Regions from separate parts of the Homo sapiens genome. Here region 1 is linked to region 2. The links are contacts of gene promoters, found by promoter capture Hi-C in blood cells and fetal thymus (Javierre and others, 2016). All regions are on one chromosome and are shown on one strand. Each heading gives the region's core, a stretch centred on a gene start or on the middle of the fragment in contact. The rest is flanking DNA. Distances are from core to core; before and after follow the strand shown. Region 1 has its middle 6.5 kb from the start of PHYH. Region 2 holds the start of MCM10 (minichromosome maintenance 10 replication initiation factor).

Evidence for each region. Contacts are between HindIII fragments. The CHiCAGO score rates a contact against its expected background, and 5 or more counts as called.
Region 1: a fragment that was not itself captured here is called in contact with the fragment with the promoter of MCM10 in region 2 in 4 of 17 cell types (naive CD8 T cells, naive CD4 T cells, total CD8 T cells and 1 more); the score reaches 6.4 in naive CD8 T cells.

Annotation. Positions count from the first base shown.
Region 1 is chr10:13,303,433-13,309,665 of GRCh38, reverse strand. It overlaps the pseudogene RBISP1. Among named protein-coding and RNA genes, the nearest start is that of PHYH, 6.5 kb to the right of the region's middle. The HindIII fragment of the contact is 1,398 bases long and covers 1,378-2,775 here.
Region 2 is chr10:13,159,400-13,165,392 of GRCh38, reverse strand. MCM10 (minichromosome maintenance 10 replication initiation factor) reads right to left here and starts at 3,835. Exons shown (of 20, transcript NM_018518.5): 1 at 3,787-3,835; 2 at 1,184-1,265. The coding sequence starts at 1,190. It also overlaps the pseudogene RPL36AP36. RefSeq lists silencers at 3,571-3,750, 3,773-4,086. The HindIII fragment of the contact is 4,789 bases long and covers 3,119-5,993 here.

The DNA.
Region 1 (6,233 bases), core at 827-3,326, 150 kb before region 2:
AAGAATCGCTTGAACCCCAGAGGCAGAGGTTGCAGTGAGCTCAGACAGTGCCATTGCCCTCCAACCTGGGTGACAGAATGAAACTGTGTCTCAAAAAAAAAAAAAAAAAAAAAACAGGTCTTATGGCATTTAAAATACGGAAATATTCACAATGTAATAATGAGTTTTGAAAAACAACTCTATATGCAGTATGATTCCAATTTATGTATTTATGTATGTAAGTAAGTGTGTTTTTATTGAGACAGTCTCATTCTGTCACCCAGGCTGGAGTGCAGTGGCATGATCATGGCTTACTGCAGCTTTGACCTTCCAGGCTCAAGAGATCTTCCCACCTCAGCTTCCTGAGTGGCTATGACTACAGGCACACCACCGCGCCTGGGCTAATTAAAAAAAAATTATTGTAGAGATGGGGGTCTCACTTTGTTTCCCAGGCTAGTCTTGAAATCCTGGGCTCAAGTGATCGTCCCACTCTGGCCTCCCAAAGTGTTGGGATTACAGGTGTGAGCCACCACACCCAGCAGTCTTTTTTGGTGTTGTTTTTTTGTTTTGTTTTGAGACAGGGTCTCACTCTATCACCCAGGCTGGAGTGCAGTGATGCAATCTCGGCTCACTGCAACGTCTGCCTTCCAGGCTCAAGCCATTCTCCTGCCTCAGCCTCCAGAGTAACTGGGACTACAGGTGCACGCCATATGTCCGGCTAATTTTTTTGTTTCTTGGTTTTTTTTTTTTTTTTTTTTTGAGACGGAGTCTCGCTCTGTCACCCGGGGGGAGTGCAGTGGCGCAATCTCGGCTCACTGCAAGCTCCACCTCCTGGGTTCACGCCATTCTCCTGCCTCAGCCTCCCGAGTAGCTGGGACTACAGGCGCCCACCACCACGCCCGGCTGATTTTTTGTATTTTTAGTAGAGACGGGGTTTCACCGTGTTAGCCAGGATGGTCTCGATCTCCTGACTTCAAGTGATCCACCCACCTCGGCCTCCCAAAGTGCTGGGATTACAGGCTTGAGCCACCAGCCCACACCCATCAGTTTTTTAAATGTTTCTTTTTGAGACTCTGTTTCAAAAAAAAAAAAAAAATTATCTGTAATTCTACCTCAAAAGTCACGTTTTTGGAGACTATGTATTCATGGTAAAATGTCTATGCTGTAATCTAAGGTGAAAAAAAGATGCGGCGTCACCTGGAGTTTAAGAAGCTGCACGCAAGTATTGAATTCCTGACAATGGCCAAGAACAAATTTAGAGGGCAGAAGTCCAGGAACGTATTTCGCATAGCTAGCCAAAAAAGCTTTAAGGCTAAAAACAGAGTAAAACCAATTACCGCTAATCTTAAGAAGATACACATTATGAATGATGAAAAAGTCAGCAGAGTAAACAAAGCTTTTGGAAGTGTACAAGAGGAACTTCCACATTTCTCAAAAGGCCTTTCTCTTGATCTTCTGCAGAAAGAGCTGATTCCTCAGCAGCGTCATCAGAGCAAACCAGTTAATGTTGATGAAGCTACAAAACTAATGGCTCAGCTGTAACACACTGGTGATGCACCTAATTCTCCACAAAGACCAATAAATTAAGTGTTTTCTACCAAAAACAGATGCAATGCAGTCTATTCAGTGTATTCAGTGTGATACCAACTTTGAAAAAATATATACGTATGTATGTATGTACCTGTATAAAATGTATATTTTTCAACTAAATGTGAATGGGAAAAAATATAGTGAATTGTAACAGTGGTTTTCTTGTGAAGAGCAGCCACATGAGTTAATTTTAGAGGTTTTTTTTCCCTGTATTTTTTCTTTTTTCTTTCTTTCTTTCTTTCTTTTTTTTTTTTTTTTTTTGAGATGGAGTTTTGCTCTTGTTGCCCAGGCTGGAGTGCAGTGGCGCTATCTCGGCTCACTGCAACCTCCACCTTCTGGGTCCAAGCAATTCTCCTGCCTCAGCCTCCCAAGTAGCTGGGATTACAGGCATGCACCACCACACCCGGCTAATTTTGTATTTTTAGTAGAGATGGGGTTTCTCCACGTTGGTCAGGCTGGTCTTGAACTCCTGACCTCAGGTGATCCACCCGCCTCGGCCTCCCAAAGTGCTGAGATTACAGGCGTAAGCCACTGCTCCTGGCCTAAATTAAGTGTTTTATACAAAAAAAGATGCAATGTAGTGTATTCAGTGTGATATTAACTTTGAAAAAATATATACATATATATGTATATACCTGTATAAAATGTATGTATTTCAACTAAATGTGAATGGGAAAAATAGAATGAATTTTAACAACGGTTTTCTTGCAAAGAGCAGCCACATGGGTGAATTTTAGGGGTTTTTTCCCTATATTTTTTCAAATATTCTACAATATATGTGTATTATTATTGATCACAAAACATTGGGTCATTTAAATATATATGTAATATATAATGTAAACTAATATGATTTTTAAAAAATTTTTTGAGACAAGGTCTCACTCTGTTGCCCAGGTGGGAGTGCAGTGGTGTGATCATGGCACACTGTAGCCTCTGATTCCCGGGCTCAAGTGATCCTCCCGCCTCAGCCTCCTGAGTACCTGGGACTACAGGCACACCACGATCATGTCCAGCTAGTTTTTTAGCTTTTTTTCATAGAGATGGGGTCTTGCTGTGTTTCCCAAGATGGTCTCAAACTCTTGGCTTCCCAAAGTGCTGGGATTACAGGCCTGAGCCACCATGGCTGGCCAAATTAATATGATCACATAGCCATACAAAGTGGGGGCCAGCAGTGGGGAAGGTCAGTTCACCGCTGGCTGCCAAGCTTTGTGCACAAAGCAAGCCTCGCCCACCAGGCAGACTGTGGCAGAATCAACTTTTCTGTAGTGCCAACATGAGATGATTAACGCCAACATGAAAGTATACATAAATCCCGGCACTTTGGGAGGCCGAGGCGGGCAGATCACCTGAGGTCGGGAGATCGAGACCAGCCTGATCAACATGGAGAAACCCCGTCTCTACTAAAAATACAAAATTAGCCGGGCATGGTGGTGCATGCCTGTAATCCCAGCTACTTGGGAGGCTGAGGCAGGAGAATCACTTGAACCTGGGAGGCGGAGGTTGTGGTGAGCCAAGATTGCGCCATTGCACTCCAGCCTGGGCAACAAGATCGAAACTCTGTCGGAAAAAAAAAATAAAGAATACATAAAGGGCCATGGAAATACAACAGTTTCCAATGAGAAGTTTCTTTCTTTCTGCATTTTGGACAATTTAGAATTAAAACACCACCTTCCCTTTGCTGTCAAGCAGCCTCTGTGATTCCAGCCTCCCTGCACACACACGTGTTCCATTCATATCCATGGGGAACTGACACACAGAATGGAAGGTGTGTGCGCGCATGCGTGCATGTGTGTGTGTGTGCATGTATGTGTATATGTGTGTGTGTATGAGTGTGTGTGTGTGATTTCTTTCCCTATTTCCTTCCTTTCTGCCCTCCTTCACCCTAACATACCTTAGCCCTCACTCTTCCTGCACCTGCTGCCTTGTCCCCTGCCCTGTGTCGTTTAGAGCCTGGGCATGGCACTGCCTTTCCCTCTGCTTACGTGGATCATTGCTGTACCCCCTCCTATGTTTCCCTGTTTCTTTTAGACAGCTCGGTACAAATTAGGTACCCAATAATTGTGTAGAGGTTTGCTGGTTGATTTGTGTTTATTTCATGGTAGATCATTTACCCCGGGCCTCTCAATCCAAATAATTCCATAAGTGATAATTTTATTCTTTCCTCTTCTCCCAGATTTACACACCTATATTTCTTAGTTTCTAATTTAGGTTGGAAGATGAGATATTTCTTTGCACCACAGATGTCTCCATTCTTCAGACTTGTTTTCATTATAGCTGACATCAGAAATGGGCTTCGAGAAAAGCAGGAGATCCTCTCGCTTCAGCCTCCTGAATAGCTGGGACTACAGGTGCGTACCACCACACCTGGCTATTTTTTTTTGAGACGAAGTCTCGCTCTGTTGCCCAAGCTGGAGTGCAGTGGCGCGATCTCAGCTCACTGCAACTTCCCCTTCCCAGGTTCAAGCGATTCTCCTGCCTCAGCCTCCTGAGTAGCCAGGACTGCAGGCATGCGTCACCATGCCCAGCTAGTTTTTGTATTTTTAGTAGAGACAGGGTGTTGGCCAGGCTGGTTTCAGACTCCTGTCTTCAGGTGATCCGCCCACCTCGGCCTCCCAAAGTGCTGGGATTACAGGCGTGAGCTACCGCACCCAGCCTACATACCTGGCTAATTTTTAAACTTTTTGCAGAGATGGGGTCTTGCAATGTTGCCCAGGCTGGTTTTGAACTCCTGGCCTGAAGTGATCCTTCTGCCTTAGCCTCTGAAAATGCTGGGATTACAGGTGTGAGCCACTATATTCTAAACGAACTTTAAAACTTGTAACCAAATGACCTCACCTACAGTAATATCTATTCTCAGAGTTTTTGAATCTGGAGTTGATTGCAGATAATTTTTTATTCATATAATGACATTTCCTTAAGTGTGTACAATGCTTGAACAACTTATTATTGTTATTATTATTATTTTTGGAATCTCTCTCTGTTGCCCAGGCTGGAATACGGTGGTGCAGTCTCACCTCACTGCAACATTTGCCTCCCGGGTTCAAGCGATTCTCCTGCCTCAGCCTCCTGAGTAGCTGGGACCACAGGCGCCCACCACCATGCCTGGCTAATTTTTTTATTTTTTTAGTAGAGACAGGGTTTCACCATTTTGGCCAGGCTGGTCTCAAACTCCTGACCTTGTGATCCACCCGCCTCAGCCTCCCAAAATGCTGGATTACAGGCATAAGCCACCACACCCAGCTAACTTTTTAAACTTTTTAAAATAAATTTTAGAGATAGGATCTCTATCACTCAGGCTGGAGTACAGTAGGGGATCATGGCTCACTGCAGCCTAGAACCCTGAGCTCAAGCAATCCTCCTGCCTCAGACTCTGGAGTAGCTAGGACTACACGTGCGCCACTGCACCCCGCTATTTCTTTTTAAAATTTTTTGTAGAGGCGAAGTCTTGCTATGTTGCCCAGGCTGGTCTCGAGCCTCTTGGTTCAAGCAATCCTCTGCCTCGACCTGCCAAAGTGCTGACATTACAGGCGGGAGCCACCATGCTTGGCTTCAACTATTTATTTATTTATTTAATTTATTATTTTGTTTTTGAAACACAGTCTTGCTCTGTCGCCCAGGCTGGAGTGCAGTGGCACAATATTGGCTCACTTCAACCTCCACCTCCTGGGCTCAAGCGATCCTCCCACATCAGCCTCTCAAGTGGCTGGTACTACAGGTGTGCCACGCTCAGCTAATTTTCTGGGGTTTTTGTTTGTTTGTTTGTTTTCTGGTTTTCGTTTTTGTGTTTGTTTCTTTGTTTGAGATGGAGTTTCACTCGTGTTGCCCAAGCTGGAGTGCAATGACGCTATCTCGGCTCACTGCAACCTCCACCTCCCGGGTTCAAGCGATTCTCCTGCCCCGGCCTCCTGAGTAGCTGGGATTACAGGCATGTGCCACCACGCCCAGCTAATTTTTTTTTTTTTTTTTTTGGTACTTTTAGTAGAGACGGGTTTTTAACATGTTAGCCAGACTGGTCTGGAGCTCCTGACCTCAGGTGATCCACCTGCCTCAGCCTCTCAAAGTGCTGGGATTACAGGCGTGACCCACTTCCCCTAGCCAGTTTGAACAATTTAATCCAAGATTTTAAAACTCAAACATTTTACTTAGCTGTTCAAATATGGCTATTATTTAACAAATCATTTAATTTATATATATGGGGAAAACTATTCCTTAGATCATTTTGAAAATTGTGTTTCAAAACTTGTCTGCAAGGTTACTTTCAATACGTAAGTAACCAAGCACATTACTGGAAGTGGGGGGAAGCTAATTTTGAAGTAATCTTCAAAAGGTCAACTTTAATAAGAAATGAATAAATGCCTAATACCAAAGGGGAAAGAACTTTTCATTCTTGTGATAATGTTTACATTCCATTAATGTTCTGCTTCAATTGTTCTAAAATATTTTTATTTTAATAACATAATTATTAAAGATGCCTACTTAGGGAATTTTCCAATAATCCAAATAGCTATTTGAAAGAAAACTAGTAACATTCATCAAATTACCTCTTTACCTACGGAGAAATTATTATGTTAATTCTCCGTGGGATCTTAAATGAAAAATGTTAAACCCAGCATCCCTCTAATTTTAAAAAGGCAGATAACAATTGTGAGCATTTAAGAATTTCC
Region 2 (5,993 bases), core at 2,586-5,085:
GAGTTTCACATAAGGAATAACCCCTTATCTGAGGGTTTATTTTCTGTGGTTTTGATTTTCCATGGTCACTGTGGTTGAGGACAGTACAATGGATATTTTGAGAGTGCAATAGATACTTTAGAGAGAGACCACATTCACATAACTTTTATTACAGTATATTGTCATAATTGTTCCATTTTATTATTGTTGTTCATCTCTCACTGTGCCTAATTCATAAATTATACTTTATCACACGTATGTATGTACAGGAAAAAACACAGCATGCCTAGGGTTTGGTACCATCCTGGGTTTCAGGCATCTGCTGGGAGTGTGGAAACACATCTCTCAGGGACAACGGGGGTCCACTGTGCATCACAGTGTGAGGAATTTCAAGTTTTGTTTTAAAGGGCAAAGTGTAATATGTTTGAATTTTTTAAAAAAACCCAGTTTCAGATTATGAGTTCAATTATGCAACTAGATCTCTTCACAACCAGCACAATCATTTTAATTTTTTAAAAATAGAAATGAGGTCTCACTCTATTGCCCAGGCTGGTCTTGAACTCTTGGGCTCAAGCAATCCTCCCACCCCGGCCTCCCAAAGTGTTGAGATCACAGGCGTGAGCCACTGCGTCCAGCCCAGCACAATCATTTTAGGTGATCGCTAATTAGTGCAACATCTCTTTTCTAGGTAAACATTTTGTACACATCCTTGCAAAATGAACAAAATTAGAAAGGATGATATTAATAAAAACTTAAGTCAGAGCTAGACTAATATCGCTTCAGCAGATTTCATTATCAAATGTAAACTCTGAAGTCAGACTGCCTGGTTCAAAGCCCTGCTATGCCAGCTTGAACTGTGACAAGTTACTAAACATCCCTGTTTTTCTGCCTATAAAATACGTTTGCCTGAGGACTGAATCAGTTAATTTCCACAAGGATCTTGGAGCAGTGCCTGGCCCACTGTACACCTACCAGCTATTGTAATTATGAAAGACAATCTCTGTTGCCAGAAGAAATCTCCCCTGATAAAAGCAAGTAACATTCAGTGACCTCTGTGAGATGTGAGATTGCTTCAGAACCACTAAGACAATACCTGAGGGCTGGGGAGCATTTTCACCATTTTACAGGTAGAATAAATAACAAGTCCATGGACAAAAGGTTAGTTTTCCTTGAAACAGAGTAACAGAAAACTGCCAGGTCTTACCATCCATGCTGTCAAGAGGACAGTTGTGACAGGAAACTTCGAAGGAGGCTCAGATGCCCAGATGAGCAATGTAGAATCTTGGCTGTGTGAAAGCAATATTAGAAATGTCACTTTCAATTCTTCTCTTTCTCTCACAACACACATCCAACAAACCCAGAATCCTACCACTCCTATGGGCTCTAACCTCAGAATTCATCCAGAATCTGACCATTTCTCACCTCCTCTCTCCACACCGCCAATGCCATCTCCTTCCTTGGATGTAGCAGCTCACTTTTACTTGTGTTTAAGGTTACAGAAAGTTATTGAGCTGCAGAGCAGTTTGTAAATCACACTAGATTACGTGGATGAGATAAATTATGAGGAAGAACTATTGGGGTTGGCTAGGTACAGTGGCTCAACGCCTGTAATACCAGCACTTTGGGAAGCTAAGGTGGGCGCATCACTTGAGGCCAGAAGTTTGAGACCAGCCTGGTCACATAGCAAGACCTTGTCTTTTTTAAAAATTACACACACACACACACAAATTATTGGGGTCGATCTACATTAGGCTATTCTTTCATTTTATTCACTGTAATACACCTGACATCTGCGTTATCCACGACAGCTTACTGTATGATTCTACTTAGGTGGAGCCTTAGTGACAATCAGGATTTTGATTCAATACTAGTCAGCAAAGCACAGAGAAACAGCGTAGCTAATTAAGACAAAGTTGTATCACTTTGTGCACTTCTCTTTTCATTTAAGGTTATTTTTTAAACTGCAAGTAAGAAAGTATACATTTTTCTAGGCTCTTATTTAACTTACATGTGCTCTTTGGCAAGTTCAATGTCAAGGAACTAATTACAGTGATTATGGTACTTTCTTTTCTTTTTTTAGACAGGATCTCGCTCTGTCGCTGGGGCTGGAGTGCAGTGGTGCTATTGGCTCACTACAACCTCCGCCTCCCAGGCTCCAGTGATTCTCCTGCCCCAGCCTCCCAAGTAGCTGGGATTACAAACGTGCACTACCACACCCGGCTAATTTTTGTGTTTTTTGTAGAGACAGGGTTTCGCCATGTTGCCCAGGCTGGTCTTGAACTCCTGATGTCAAGTGATCCATCAGCCTTGGACTCCCAAAGGTGCTTTTTTTTTTTTTTGAGACGGAGTCTCTGTCACCCAGGCTGGAGTGCAATGGGGCGATCTTGGCTCACTGCAAGCTCCGCCTCCCGGGTTCACGCCATTCTCCTGCCTCAGCCTCCCGAGTAGCTGGGACTACAGGCGCCCGCCACCACGCCCGGCTAATTTTTTGTATTTTTAGTAGAGATGGGGTTTCACCGTATTAGCCAGGATGGTCTCGATCTCCTGACCTGGTGATCCGTCCGCCTTGGCCTCCCAAAGCGCTGGGATTACAGGCGTGAGCCACCGCGCCTGGCCGCTTTTTAAAAATTCATTCAACCAACATTTCCACGGATCCCTCATGTGCCACACACTGTGCTATCTACTGGGGAACCTATTGGACAGTAAGCTTCCTGAGCGTTAGGAGCAAACTGTCTCGTTCAAGTCTGTAACCGGCCTTGCCTTCCCCCAAAATGAAACTGTGCACCCTCCCTCGCCCTCAAATCCACGGCCACTGACAAGTACTGTGGTCCCATCTCCAAAACACTGCTCAAATCTGCCACTTCTCTCCAACTTCACTGCCAGAACCCTAGGCCAAGCCACCGTCAACCTTTAACCCAATGACTGTGTTAGCTTTCTATGTTGGTCTCTTTGTCCCCGTGCAATCTGTTCTGCATACGACAGCCACGGTAATCTTCCCTTTCCTTAGTAACCTTTAGGAACATAAATCAGATCATGGGGGTCCCTTCATTGAAATTCTTTAATGATTTTCCATTGCCCTTAGAAAAAATCTACAAAGCCTGCGAGGCAATGATTCATATTCTCTCTCTCTTTCCAAGCTTTCTACTCCCTCACATTTTCCACAATCCACCACGTCCAATTCTACCCACCCCGACACCCATAACGATGCTCCAGCCGGGCCAGCCCGCTTCCACCTTCTGGAACACACTAAGCTGCTTTGAGGTCTCAGGCTCTGTCGAAGAAAGCTCCCCCCAGGTCCTTCTCGCCCTTCGGTCTCCACTTACTCATCTTTCTGAGACTTTCTGGACCACCCTGAGTCGTCCACTGTCGTGCATTTGTTTACTACCTGCTCGTGCCTTTAAACTGTAAGCGCTGTGAAGGCAGCGGAAATGTGATCCGAGCCATGCACACCGTCCGCATTCAATAATCATTGGCAAATCATGAATACGAGAAACCAATGAATGAATGAATGAATGAATGAATAAAAGAAAGCCCAGGCGGCAGGCACTTGGCAAGCACTTAAAAGGCTGCGTTTAAAAGGAAGAACCCGATTCCTTAGTAGACGGCCAGCAACTCCCAGCCCCCGGCCCGGCCATGCCAGCTCCGAGCGGTCCCAAGCTGCCGCCAAATCCAGATCGCGCCCACCCGAGCTCCCGGGACCCCGCGCCTCTAGCCTCGGACCCCTTGCAACCCGCGCAGAGACGTGCGAGGCGGCCCCGGCCCCGCCGCCCGAGGGTCACACGCACGCCCGGGGCCCGCGCTCCTCACCCGATGCCGGGACGCCTTCTTCGTTCACAGCTGAACCCGCCAAAATTCCAACCGGATCCCGCCCCTGCCTTGACGTCAGACGCACGCGGCTGTGGGGCAGCACTGACTGGCTACGCCAGCGAATCCCGGCCCTGGCACAGAGCAATCGGATTGGTTTACGTCATTGGACGCCCTCTTTGTTGGGGGCAAGGGACCTTCCTGTCGGTAGAAGCCAGTCTCCTTTAGGTAAAATAGAGTGTCTGGCGCCCCCTGGTGCCGGGAAGTTTAAGTCATCCCACCCAGTATTTTCCCTGCGGTCCCATCCCACCTCAACTCCTGACGCTCTGGGACCGACTGTTCCTTTGTCAGCCTTATGTCCATTCGAAATGTTTGGGCTCAGGACCAAACAGATCCGGTCCACTTTTACCCTGTCTGACCTTGGGGAAGTGACTTATCTCTCTGAGTTTCCCCTTCACCATCTGTGCAGTGAGGGAAAGGGTAGATGACATCTTTTACACTGAAACCACCATTTCCCGAGTAATTCCTGTTCCATAGATTTTGGGACTTCTAAGGGGCGTCAGGGCTGAAGAGAACTTATCAGCAGACCATATCTTTCACAGATTTTTTTTTCAGTAAAATTCAGGCCTCTTTATGTATTTACATTCTAAAAAATAGTGTTTGTACATAATACTAAGAACATAGTTTCTAAATGCAGAATAACATTTAGCTTTTACATAATTTCAAGGGATTGATAGCAGAAGAGACTTTGATGGACCAAATGGCCACTTTAAGTCTTTCCCCCCTTTTCCTCCTTGCAGACACTGTTCAGGCACTGCAGTTCCCCCACTAATAATCCCTTTGGTATAAGATCCTATCTCTATCCACTACGTACTTTCATTTTCAGAACAATTAAAATCGACTTTAGGAAGACTGAAGATAAACAGTCCTGATGCCATCTACGTTGACTTTTTTCTGTGTCCTAATGGAATATTACTGCTCCATTTATGAGCTCAGCCCTATTACTTAAACCTATATTGGCTCAGGAATAGGAATACAACCATTTCTGAGAGCTGCTAGTGTTAAAAATTCATAGTAATGGAGGAACTCTAGTAATCAAATTGAAAAAGTATGTTTAAATGCGTACTTTTAAACATACGGCACTAAGGCCGGGCACGGTGGCTCACCCCTGTAATCCCAGCACTTTGGGAGGCCGAGGTGGGTGGATCACGAGGTTAGGAGTTCGAGACCAGCCTGGCCAACATGGTGAAACCCCATCTCTACTAAAAACACACACAACACAAAAATTAGCTGGGCGTAGTGGTGCGCGTCTGTAATCCCAGCTACTTGGGAGGCTGAGGCGGAGAATCGCTTGAACCTGGGAGGTGGCGATTGCAGTGATGAGCCGAGATCTCGCCACTGCACTCCAGCCTGGCGACAGAGCCAGACTCTGTCTAAATAAATAAATAAATAAATAAATAAATAAATAAATAAATGCATCACTACATCTAGTTATTAAAAAAAAAAGATTCGTCATAGATTTATTCTTAGCCATTATGCAGAAATTCCTTGACTAATTCTGATCAGTACTCTGAAGTTCTTTTCTTCACCTTCACTTTCCAGGTCCTCTTTGCATCCAGTTCCGGGCAAGGAGTCAGAAACAGAACCAACCTAAGCCCGCAAACCTTCCTTAAGTGAAGAATCAAGCACTTTTTATTGGAATTAGTATAGTGGTGACTTTGAGAAAAGAAGTGGAGGTGATTTTGAGAAACAATTAGGCAAATAGATTTTTTAAAATCCATTGAATGTGGCTTTTCCGTGCCGATAGCGCTCACACAAACATTACGAAGTTTCCTAAAACCCGCCAGACTTTCTATAAGAAGTGTGGCAAGCACCAACCCCACAAAGTGACACTGTACACGAAGGAGAAGGATTCTCTGTATGCCCAGGGAAAGCGGCGTTATGACAGGAAGCAGAGTGGCTATCGTGGGCAAATTAAGCCGATTTTCCAGGAAAGGGCTAAAACTACAGAAAATTGTGCCAAGGCTTGAGTGCGTTGAGCCCAGCTGCAGCTCTAAGAGAGTGCTGGCTATTAAAATATGCTAGCATTTTGAACTGGGAGGAGGTAAGAAGAGAAACGGCCAAGTGATCCAGTTCTAAGTGTCATGTTTTCTTTTATTATGAAGACAATAAAATCTTGAGTTTATATTTTTAAAACATCCATTGAATGT